Linked DNA regions of Homo sapiens: regions 2 and 3 are each linked to region 1. Evidence: promoter capture Hi-C in 16 types of primary human blood cells and fetal thymus (Javierre and others, 2016). All regions are on one chromosome and are shown on one strand. Each heading gives the region's core, a stretch centred on a gene start or on the middle of the fragment in contact. The rest is flanking DNA. Distances are from core to core; before and after follow the strand shown. Region 1 holds the start of USP13 (ubiquitin specific peptidase 13). Region 2 has its middle 39 kb from the start of LINC02031. Region 3 overlaps ATP11B (ATPase phospholipid transporting 11B (putative)).

Region 1 (4,446 bases), core at 1,269-3,768:
CAAAAAAAACCTTCCCATTATCACGCACTGTGCTTTAAGATAAATATTATCAAACCTTCCCTTCCTCCCCTGAAACATAGATAATGAAATATACTGATTCATCAGCCTTGTAAATAATCCCAGTCTCCCCTAAGGAACTGCTGTGATATGATTGCAATCATCAGTCTACACTGGACGAGATGTTTCTAGAATAGTAACATTCTAGAAACACACACAGTAAGCTCCCAATAACTATTTGTGGAAATGAATTAAAACAATCAGCCTTTTTTCCCACACCTGTTATCCACTGCATTATGCAGCAAAAACTTCCAAGAGCAAAGTTTGTAAGCAGAACTTGAAGAAGAGCCCAAATCAAAACATGGGGAAAGTCATTTGACCCACTTTCCATGTTGTGCTATCCTAAAAAACTTAGGCCACTTTCTTCTTCCTGGAGGTAACAATCTGTCAATTGCTTAAGTTAGGACCATCATCCCTCTCCACCTTTAGAAGCTATTAGTGGGAACTGCCCAACACTGGCCATACAATCTGAAAATGGCATTTTCAAATAATTTATGGATAACATCCTAAAAAAGGACTGCCGATTGTCACACTCCACTCTGTGGATCTTTTCGAAAGAAAAAAAAAGTAAACAATCAAAAATTAAGTTAGGTTTCATCCCTCAAATGATATGGAGTTACCATAAATAAAAAAACTAAATGTCACAGAGAGGATACTAACTCTGATACTCCAGTGTGTGTCGAGCAAAAGTGCTTTGAAGCCAGCCAAAATCAACCCACAGATAATAAAGGAAACTTTGGAAATGTTGCCGCTCATTTGGACTTTTCTTTTCCCCTCTGACAATAGTCCACATGCTATGAATAAAATACATTAGACCATTGCGAGACCTGCCTCGGTCCATCCAATCCATGCGCCTCCCAATGCATTGAGATCTGCCGGGTGACATATGAGATCTAAAGTGGGTGGATAAAAATAACCTGGTCCTCAAAAAGACATGATAAACGCCAGACAGCTGAGTCACTTTGAAGCCCATTTTGACTTTTGAAAGGGACATTCACCCTCCTGCTGCTTCTCACACATTCACATAGAACCAGGTGAAAACCACCACCAACCGCCCCGGGTGGAAGGCGGCGATCCCTCTCAGCTTCCTCCTCATTCTCCGAGGTCACGACTCGGGATTGAACTTTTAATAATTTATACTTGCGCATGTCAGTCCAAGTGACTCATTTAGAAGGGCAAGGTGGGGAAGGCTTAAGAAAACCATCGCAATCCAGTAGATCCCCTATTTCTGCTGCCCGAGTGGAGGCACCGGAAGGTTTCGTCTGACATTTTTTTTTTTTTTTTTTTGAGACGGAGTCTCGCTCTGTCGCCCAGGCTGGAGGGCAGTGGCGCGATCTCGGCCCACTACAGCCTCCTCCTTCCCGGTTCAAGCGATTCTCAAGCCTCAGCCTCCCGAGTAGCTGGGACTACAGGCTCCCGCCACCGCGCCCGGCTAATTTTGGGGTTCTTTTTTAGTAGAGATGGGGTTTCGCCATATTAGCCAGGCTGGTCTCGAACTCCTGACCTCAAACGATCCGCCCGCCTCCGCCTCTTAAAAAGTGCTAGGATTTCAGACGTGAGCCACCGCGCCTGGCCCTGACATTCTAAAGACAAGAAAAGGAGTGGGGTGAAATGGGAACTGGTGGAAGAAAAGCTCAGAGAGCAAATCAGAATTGTCCAGAAGTGGGGATCCCTGAGCAAAGCAAGTGGTCCCAGAAAAAGAAGGGCTGTGTGTGTCCCGGGGTGTGGGGGGATCATCCCGTCCACCTACCCGCCCTGCGCTCTGCCCCGCGGAGGACGCAAACGATCTGCAACGTGCAGTTCGGAACAGGGAACTCTTGTATTTCATCTATCTTTAAACGGCGGCGGGGCTGTGTGCAAGCTGCTGGGAATCGGGCCCTTCCAGCCTGGGGAGGCTGGCGGAGCAAAACCACCAGCACGAGCCAGTCCTCGGCTGCAGCAGCCCTGGGGCGCTCACTAAGTGTCTGCCGAACTGCAGTGTTCCTGAGCCAACTCTGCCGCCCGGAGGAAGAGAAGAGGTCCCGGCCGCCACTGCGCATCTTCTCCCCCGGCTTCACGTGCCGCAGGCCGCCGGCCCCGCGACCCTCCCCCGAGGCGCCTCACTTACGGGAGAGTCGTAGGAGAAGGCGCACTCGTTCTTGTAGACCCTGTCGCCGGACCTGGGCACGCGGATCGTGGGCATGTGGGGCACTAGCAGCTCGCCGATGTCTCCTGCAGCCATCTTCCTGCCTCCGCTGCCGCCCGGCATGCCGAACAGGGCGCCCCGGCGCTGCATGGCCTCGGCGCGCACCGGAGCCGAGCGAGCCGAGCCGGAGCCGGAGCGCGGGGTCTGCCGGCGGCGGCGGCGCCAGCGAGCGGGCTGACGGGCGGGCTGCGCGGGCAACGGCAGCCGGCCGAGCCGGGGCGGGCGGGGAGAGCGGGCTGCGGGGCGGGAGCGGGCACCGCGGGCTTGGGGCGGACTGGCGACGCTATTTTTAATCCAATGGCGAGTCTCCGGCCCAGCTGCAGCGTCAGGCGGGGCTGGGGAGCGCCAGCCGCAGCGTGCCGGGGAGGGGGCGCTGGAGAGGGGCCCTGCGCGTGGGCCGGGCGCGGCGGCGGGGGGCGGAGGGCGAACCCCTGAGGCGTTGGCGCGGGAGCTCGAGCGGGCTGGCGGCCGAACGCGGCGCGGGAGGGCCCCGGGAAAACACCACGGAGGTGTTTTCTATCCCGAATTGTTGGCTTGCAGAGGGGCAACTCCGAGGAGGCCAACACAAAGAGCAGGATTGGGGGTTTTAAAAACCGCTTGCTTTTAAAACAGCCGAAGACTAGGGCGGTGACGTCCCCGGATTGGATAGGGGCGGGACTCGATGTGCAAATCTGAAATCTAACGTGAGGCTTAAATCTAAATTTGCGCCATGCACTTCAGTGCTTCCCCACTAAGCTTCGTTCCTTACTTTAACATCCAAGGCTCAAAAATAGAGCGAATAGAATAAGATCGAGTGAGGATAGAGGGTGTGTGTGTGGGGGAGGGCGGGGTGTGTGTGGGAGTGTGTGTGTAATAATAATACAGGTTTTCTTACATATTGGGGGAAGTCAGGGATGGTCAAGATTTTTTCAGGGCGTCGGAAGGCTTTCTATTTTTCTCTGCCTTTGGAGTATCTTCTATGTGATTCAAAGTTCTCATGTCGAACATTCAGTGGCCTGATTTGAGGATTTTGTAGGCAGGCATACATATTCCTGTCTTGATCATCAGTTCCTCAAAATAAATGATGAATGGGGTTGGCCTCGGGGGTTGATCATTTGCAAGCAGAGCATGTCTCCCAGCATACTCTCATTCTCTCCAAAAAACCCACAAGACGGGTTCAATGACATTGAGGTTCTCTAACTACACCCAACATATGTATTCATGACAGAGTATCCAGTGATCCCTGCCAGTTAATGAAATGCAGAAATAGCGAGAAATAGTGAACCAAAACGCTAATTTTTGTAAGCCTCTCTCAGATCAGATAGTCCTTAAGTTCTTTTTTTTTTCTTACTTTTTTTCTCTTTTAACTCTCCCTGGTTCTCCAGACCTATCTCAAGATTTCCATACCCTCAAGCAAGCCTCGAGCGCACCACACTTTCTTATAACTCAGCACTCCCAAATGCTATCTGTTGGAAAAGGAGGAGGTGGCACTGAGCAAAAAATCAGACACTACTGTCATCTTCCTCATTGGGCAGATCCTCTCAGCGAGCTTTTGCTTTGAATTTAGTCTCATCAGCTTATTACCTTTCACGTTAATGGATGATGTTTTCTCCAATTACAGAGATAAACTTGGTTTTACAAAACTTAAAATTTAATCTTAGATTAAATACAAATTAAATCAGTGAGACACTGTTTTTCATCCTTTGGGCTGGTAAAGATATATTGAGTTAGCATGGGTTTGGGAAGTAGACCCTCATTACATTGTTGGTGGGGATAAAAACGATAAACCTCTTTGGAAGGAAATGTAATAATACCAGTCATAACTTTATATGTGCATACTGTTTTCCCCAGCATTTCCTTGTCTAGACATTTATGCAACAGATAAATTAAGGCTGTGTAAAGATATTTGTTAGAGCACTGTTTCGAGTAACAAACGTCTGGGGAAAACCTAAAGATCCTTCTGTAGAAAGTGGTTAAAATACAGTACCATTGAAAAGAATGAAGTTGCTCTACGTGTGCTGATGTGGAACAATCTCCAAATTATTACTAGATGATAAAAGCAATTTAAGCAAACTAGTGTATAAAAGCAAGGAATACATGCAAGGCTGATAATATGCAGTAGGCATTTTGGCACATCCTATATACCATGGGCCTTCATTCCAGTTGGTTGTACTTGTAGTAAATATTTTTAATGTAGCCCCTTAAAATATACATATGTGTATGCA
Region 2 (3,999 bases), core at 670-3,169, 3.0 Mb before region 1:
AGTTGTTGTTTCTTGACTAATAAACAAGTTTTGGTGTGCAGAGCTTTGATCCCCACTTACGTTTTGAAGTGCCTTTTCAGTTTTCATATGATGAAATTTATGTTCACTTCTCTGCCCTGAGTCTCAGTTACTTCCCTAGACGATGAAGAGTCAAGACCATGGATTCTCTCAGGTGCACTGAGTTTGGTGTGCTGTGTGAAGCCTGGTGTGTGTGTTGGGATTCACCACAGCCTCTTTTTATTGGCATACTAAACGTTTATACTGTGGCAAATGGGAGGACAAGTTCCTCCACCATGGACCTAAACAGACTCAAAATAAATAAAGCTTTGCTTCTTAAATACTGTCTTATCTGTAGATTATTTTCTCTTTGATAAAAATATATTTTTTTCAAATGACAGCCATTTTCATGTGTCGTTCCTTCTTAGAGAACATTGAGTTACCTCCTTCGAGCAGCCATGATGTTGGTGGCTTCATCCATCCCCCTTTTGGCAATATCCTGGACAATAAAGCAGAAAAATGGAAGGAAATTAATACTATGGTGACACTGTGGGGGGTCTCTATATCAACCCTTGCTTGAAGCTTGAGCTGAATTTTCAGTTATATGAGTCAATGTACTCATGTATTGTATAAGACAGATTTTGGGTTTTAGTCGCAGTTAAAAGCATCCTAATGAAAATATCTCTTGTTAAAGTATAACTTGAACATATGACTCAGGTGAAGATTTATCACCTCTGAGGGAAACCAAATTTAGGTTTCACTCCAGGTTGGAGTGCCGTGGTGCAACCTTGGCTCACTGCAACCTTGAACTCTTGGGCTCAAGTGATCCTCCCTCCTCAACCTCCCAAGTAGCTAGGACTACAAGCACCCGCCACCATGACCAGTTAATTTTTAAATGTTTTGAGAGATGGGCATCTGGCTACGTTGCCCAGGTTGGTCTCAAACTCCTGACCTCAGGTGATCCTCCTGCCTCAGGCTCCCAAAGTGCTGAGATTACAGGTGTGAGTCACCTTGCCTTGCCTGAATACACTGTTTTGACTTTTGAGATTAAAACGGAAGTAAATGAAATAAACTCACGACAATGAGCCAATGGCCAGCACTGTTATAGATCAATAACACAGGTTTCAACTCTTTGGAGGGAGAGTAACTAACTTACTTTCTGCACCTAACTTTCTGTATCACATCATTCTTTTCTTCCTGAGCTCAAACTCTGTCTCAGTAGCTTTCTGTAGCAGCCCCTGCGGGCACATAAGATAACATCTATCTGTGCTCCTTATCAAGCCATTCTGTCTAGTCCTAAATGTCAGAATAGGTACTAACACAGCTTTGGGCTTTGCAAGAAAATGTTCTCATCTTTTATCATCAGTTGGAAAGCTTTGGGGGCAGGAGAGACAAGAAGATTCATTCATTATTTTCAACACATATTTAAGTTTCTATATAAAACAAGGAGTGAGGTTCAATCCACAAAAGTTAATGGAAAAGTAACATCGAATTTCATGGTTGGCAGAGGTAAAGAACCACAGTTCCTAAGACACCGGCAAGTCAATTTAGGAAAGAAAAATTGCAGTGCCCACCTTCTTCCACAGAGGGGCACTCCAAGCTCATCACTGAAACCGTGCACTGTGTTGTTTTCAGTGAGCGGTTGTAGAAAAAGAACTTCCAATCTTTTCTCCATGCCTAGGGATTATTAAGAGCGTAGAATTTAAAGTACATTTGCAGGGCTCGATGTGAATGAGGCAAAACCATTTCAGTATCAATCCCAGTGGTGCCAGCAACCCATTCTAAATTAACTCAGGTTTAAATATGTTACAGAAATGTGTTAAATTTGAGAACAAATTTCACTTAGGATCTGTGGGTCTCTGTTACACAAAAGATGGAATACTTTGGAGGCAATGCAGTTCTTATTTAAAGCTAAAATATGGCTTATCATAAAACTATAGTCAGCCCGCTTCAAACACTCATGTCTTCACCAGAATGGGCAATATAGAATGAAAATTACACCTTGAGTAAACAGAATTGTAGATAAATGAGTTATGTCTCAAGACGTTTTGAATATTTTTATTATTGTGTCTGGGCCAAAAGTCTTTCCATATGTCCAAAGGCCCCGTGGCATTTCCAAATCAGCCGTGGGTGACGGTGGGACCGCGGGGCTCGTATGATGCCAACGCAAGCGTACCGGGTGGTCCTCATAGTTTGTTACATTCCAAAATGCAACCATTAAAGGGGCGGCCCTTACCTTCCCTAGTGAATACAAAAAGCCTTTGGAGACCAAAGGGCTGGAATGCTGGGGCAAACGCCACCCCACGTGCTGACCCCTTGGCCAGAGCCGAGGCGGGCGGCCTGGAGTCCCCAGCGCGGAGCCCCCAGGTTCCCAGGAGCTCGGGTCGCTCTCCGCTCTCCGCCCCTCGCCCGGGCCCACGGAAAGGGCTAAATGGCTTGCGACCAAACAGCGAATTTAAAAGGAAGCTTTCACGAAAAGCCCAAGGGAGCGGCAGCCCAGATTGTGTGGAGGGCAGAGCCGCGGGTTCCGAGGGTCCCCGGGGCGAAGCGGGCAGGGGCGCACCTCCGGGCCGCGGGCAGATGGAACCCGGGCTCCCGGGCCGGCGCGCGGGGGGCGGCCGCCTAGACATCCTCTCATTCGGCTGAAGTTTATTCTGGGCCACCGAGAGCTGGAACAGGAAATGTTCCGTCTTTCATGTCCACCGGTGGGCTTCAGACAGTTTTGCACCTCCCGGCGAGCACTGATTAGCCGGCTGAGTTCTGCCGCATTTGAAGTTCACCATTTATTATTAAAGAGAAGTGGCAGTGATTAGTGCTGGGTCCTCGGGGAGTGGAATAAATATTTACTAAATAAGAACGTTCCGCCATAAAGGAACGGCTCGAACAGGTTTCTGAAACCCCGGCGCGGGCCCCAAGTGCCGCCCCCAGGCAGGAAGCGGCGTTGCGGGGCTTTCCGCGAGAGGCTGCCATCTGCAGACCGTGCTGGGCGGCGACCTCCGCGGGGCAGGGCTCGGCCCGGCGCAGCCAGGGCCCGACGAAACTCGGCACTCTGGGCGTTTAAGTTATTTTATAGGCTGTGTTTGTTTTATAAAGGCAGAGGTGAATGTCAAACTAAACTTCGAACCTTTCTTTAATTTAAGGAACAAAGTAACATTTTATCGCTCAAGTAAGGGGACTGTGTTGCTTCCAACGTTAGGAGCATTTTCCAGTATGCTCCAAAGTGTACCCAAATTGTGAGCATCCAAGAAAGCATATTTATGTATATTTCAAAACATTATGTCATACAATGTAAATTATACAGTTTTTATTTGTCAACTGAAGAATAATAGTAAAAAAAAAAGTTTATTTAGTTTATTTGGCAATTAACTTACACGATGGCATCCCTGTCAAAAGCATTCATGTTGGTTGTTTAAAAAGCGTTTTCCTTAATTATTAGAATAATACTTTTACTGTAGAAAATATGAAATTTGCATATATCTAAACATCAGTATCACATGCTTTTTTCCATCATATTTTGCAGTGGGAATTGTCCAATGACATTACATATTTTTAGGGACAAATTTAGTGTCTATATCCATTTATTTAACTTACAGTGAATTAATAAACATTAAGGTAGTTTCAAGTTTTCCTTATTATAATAGCTCAATTAATATTTTTGTATGCAATTCTACACTTGTCTGATTATTCCCTGGCACCATTTTATTTTGAATTTCTTTTATTGTAAGTTGGGTTTAATATTATATTGCGAATAATTACAGAGAAGGGCCAGTTTTTGCTCATCACCATGTACCTGGTGTCTTGTATTATGCTGAGCACATACCAAATGCCCAATAGATATTGATTGAATGAATAAAAGAATAAAAAGTTAGTAGAACATTTGAATTTCTTGTTTTGTGAATTGCTTAATATTATTCATTTATTATGATAAGTTATCTTTTTCTTATGAATTTATAAGCTGTGTTTTAGGTAATAAGGATTTAACCTTCGGTTTGTCGCACATAT
Region 3 (3,879 bases), core at 1,345-3,844, 3.2 Mb before region 1:
AGGCTGGTCTTGAACTCCTGATCTCAAGTGATCTGCTCGCCTCGGCTTCCCAAAGTGCATGAGCCACCGTGACCGGCTGAAAATGTATTTTTAAAAAACAGAAGAATTTTAGCTTATTTTCAGTTATTTCAAAAAGCAGCTCATTTACCCTGCATAATAACTAAGAAAATTCTACTGCTGATCTGCAATTCTTGCCTTTTAATATTTTCCTGTATTCGATTTTTTAAAAATGTACTTTAGCAACCAATCAAAGAATACTTACTGAATACTTACTATGTGCCTTGTAATGTGCTAAGGACTAATGATGATGAAAGAAATACATGATTTAGTCCCTGCCCATATGGAATTGATGAAATCTTAGTGATTTATGCCTTAAGCTATTTCATCTCACATACTTAAGATCAAATCAGGATTGTTTCCTGTTTTAAATGTGAGACAACTAGCATGGATATCTAACAATCTGGAAAGCAACTGGATATACTTGCTTAGAGCTTAGAAAAGAGGGCTGGACTTGATATTGGAACCCAGCAAGCAAAATGGTGACAGTTCAAGCAAAGGATGTGTACAGGATTGCTTATTAGTGTACAGAGCGGGCAGGGCGTGGTGGCTCACACCTGTAATCCCAGCACTTTGGGAAGCCAGGGCAGGCAGATCGCTTGAGGCCAGGAGTTCAAGAACGGCCCGGCCAACATGGCACAACCCTGTCTCTACTAAAAATACAAAAATTAGCCAGGCGTGGTGGAGCATGCCTGTAGTCCCAGCTACTTGGGAGGCTGAGGCAGGAGAATCGCTTGAACCCAGGAGGCGGAGGTTGCAGTAGGCGGAGATGGCACCATTGCACTCCAGCCTGGGCGACAGACCAAAAGTCTGTCTCAATAAAATAAAATAATTAAAATTAAATAAAAGAAATAAAATAGAATATAAATAAAATGTAATTAGGAAACTTAGTCTTTAATTGTTAATGGTTATCACACTAACTTCTAATAACCAAAGGCATTGGTTCTCAGAGTTTTGGACTTCTATTTTTTTAATCTCCTATAGGAGGGAACAGTTTTGGATTTCACAGATCGGTAAAACTTTTTTAAATTAGGAAACTGGCATAGGGTTGCCAACTTTTTATTTTTCTAACCAAGAATATTAATAAAAAAGAAAGCAAGGGAAACAATCTAAGACTTTAAATTAAAGTCTGAGAAACTAAACCAGAAAAAGAACATTAGGGAAAAACTAATAAAATTCAAATAAAGTATGCAGTTAAATAACAACACATCAATATTGGTGTAACAAACGCTGCACAGTAATGTAAAATGTTAACAATAAGAGAAACTGGGTGGGAGAGAAGGGTACAGGAATCCTCTCCACTATATTTGCAACTTTTTTGTTAATCAAAAACCATTCTAAAATAAAGTTTATGTTTAAAATGTTAAAAAAATTACTCAAAAACAAGGACATCTATAAATTTATGCAAACACACAGATTACACTGACCTCATTTTTCTCATTTTGCCATAGACCACTGAGAGCTTTATCTCAATCTACATGAAACATCATCATTATGGAACCCATGGCCTGGGAGACTACCAACTAAAAAAAACTGTTAAAAGCATTCTTTACAAATTTTGACTTTCCCTTTCTCATAATACATTCCTAAGATACTTCAGCTTTTCCCTCTTTAAAAAAAAAATACTACAAATATATGCTGGAAAAAAAATGTTGATCAACATTGGCAGGTTAGCACTGCATCAATTCCCTTTAACTTTGCATAAAGATTTGGATCCACAAGGTATGAGGGTCTCCTGCATATCTAAGTTAGAAACCAATTCCTTTACAACACTGGAACTTCAACAGGAAAACACAAGATTAGAGAACTACTTTACAGTCTCTCCATAGTAAACAATCAGGTTCACTCTCACTGTTTCTGAACTTATCGTACCTTAAAGAGCATAGTGGAGAGCTAAAATAAGCAAGAGTATCTACATTCCCCTTGTAGTTCAGGAGATGAAAAAGTGAAGAAACAACGTTCTAGGTAACATATGATTAAGACTTGGACTTACTATATTGTGCTCAAGCTTTATCCGCCAATTACACTCATTGCAAAAGACTCTTCAAAGCAAAATCTTACAATACCTATGTGTATCACTTATAAAGAAAAACGTGTTTGCTACTCAGTTAAGTTAAAATGTTTGATCATTCTGAAATATCAAGCCACTTAGTATTTGATCTTATAATTCAATTTATAAGTATCATGAGCAAGGTAATATGCTTAGAACTATGGAAATACCAAAATGAGAAAACCACGCCCCTCCCCTGAATAAAACTTCATTTTTAAAAAAAGCCTTTTTAATAAGCACAAAAAGTAAAATATGTAGAATAAGTACAATTTTGACTAAAATAGCATTAAATCATAGATGACTCACTTATTTTCCTACAGAATATTATAAAATATAACCTTAATAGATTTAAAAGTATGACATAATTTCCTTATGGATATGATAAAAGCTATTATTAAAAATGGGCACCACCTTATCTCTTTGCTGCAATTCTAATTTCTATTTCAAGGTCACAAATTTCTCAAATGTCAAAATAATTTTTGAGCTCCCAAGGAATTTAAAACTTTTGAAAACTCTAAAAAATAATTTGCCACGCTGTTTAAAATCAATGTACACATTGCCATTTACACTATATAACATGTGTAAGAGGAGATACACATTAAGATATAAGCCAGGCCTAACTAATAAAATATATTTCACCTTGAGAATGGCCATGGCTGGACTAGAAACTCTTGATCATTTTTTTTTCTTTTTCCTCTACAAACTTGTCACCACCATCTCCAGAATACCACTGCTAGACTTTCCTTCCCCTAATGCATTCTGTAGTCTTATCACACTTTCAGGCAGATTTAAGAGATAACGGTGGAAGCTACTGTTATTTCATTCTCCCTACTATGGCTAATTCTATTCCACACTACTAAACTCCCTGGAAAAACTCTCTAGGTTCAAGTCCTGGCTGTGACACTAATTGGCTATTGGCTTTGGGAAGGTCTACATTTTGAACTGTTCCCTTTACTTCACAAAAGCAAAGACAGATAGTCTTTTTTTTTTTTAAATTAATACTTAGCCAAGCTTAACATAAGATAATCATTTCTGTAATCAGGAGCTGAGCCTCTGGGACTCTCAGTGTGGAAATAAGCAGTTTGAAGTTCAACTCCTATAGGATAAGAATAGCCGGATAAGAATCAGCAGTACCCCCTCTGCACCATGGTTCTAGAGTCAGGTTCAATTAGTAGTATTGTGCTTGGGTCCAGGCTTGCTCCCACCTTTGAAAGAAGCCTGGAAAAAGCTGGGTACCTTTAAAATAAGTATGTTTAAGATCTCCAAAGGAATAATGGAATAATATTTTTAATGAAAAATTATGAAACAAATCAGGCACATATGCAGAAAGAGCAGACAGAAATGAACAAGGTCCAATAATAAATAAATGCTGAAAATGAGAAATTGTCATTTAAGTAAAAATTCAGAAGACAGGATAAACTACAGTGAAAACAAGAGAATTGGTGGACTAGAAGCTAGAAATAAAAAATTTCTGCTGAAAACAGCACAGATAGAAAATGAGATGAGAATAAGAAAAGAGCCATAGAGAACAAATTAAGAGGCTTCAACATATGTCAAGCAAGAGTTCTAGAATGAGAAAACTAAAGGCTGAGAAATAATATTTTAAAGAAAAAATGGCTAAAAATTTTTCTGAATTGTATAGTCTTCAGATTGAAAGCACACGCAAATGCAGAGCAGGAAAAACAATATGAAAAAACATGATGGATACATCACAGTAAAATTACAAAATATCAAGGACAAAGATAATCTTAAAAATAATGTGAAAGATATTA

Evidence for each region. Contacts are between HindIII fragments. The CHiCAGO score rates a contact against its expected background, and 5 or more counts as called.
Region 2: a contact is called between a fragment that was not itself captured here and the fragment with the promoter of USP13 in region 1, in 8 of 17 cell types (total B cells, naive CD4 T cells, naive CD8 T cells and 5 more). The highest score is 11.9, in total B cells.
Region 3: a contact is called between a fragment that was not itself captured here and the fragment with the promoter of USP13 in region 1, in 1 of 17 cell types (M1 macrophages). The highest score is 5.9, in M1 macrophages.

Annotation. Positions count from the first base shown.
Region 1 is chr3:179,651,112-179,655,557 of GRCh38, reverse strand. It overlaps USP13 (ubiquitin specific peptidase 13), which reads right to left and starts at 2,518. Exons shown (of 21, transcript NM_003940.3): 1 at 2,165-2,518. The coding sequence starts at 2,332. RefSeq lists an enhancer at 2,045-2,688 and silencers at 2,357-2,696, 2,707-2,786. The HindIII fragment of the contact is 8,280 bases long and covers 1-2,979 here.
Region 2 is chr3:182,681,345-182,685,343 of GRCh38, reverse strand. No RefSeq gene overlaps it. Among named protein-coding and RNA genes, the nearest start is that of LINC02031, 39 kb to the right of the region's middle. RefSeq lists enhancers at 1,639-1,688, 2,813-2,862 and silencers at 2,533-2,602, 3,013-3,082. The HindIII fragment of the contact is 1,092 bases long and covers 1,374-2,465 here.
Region 3 is chr3:182,806,262-182,810,140 of GRCh38, reverse strand. All of the region lies in intron 1 of ATP11B (ATPase phospholipid transporting 11B (putative)), which reads right to left. Among named protein-coding and RNA genes, the nearest start is that of ATP11B, 15 kb to the right of the region's middle. The HindIII fragment of the contact is 1,053 bases long and covers 2,068-3,120 here.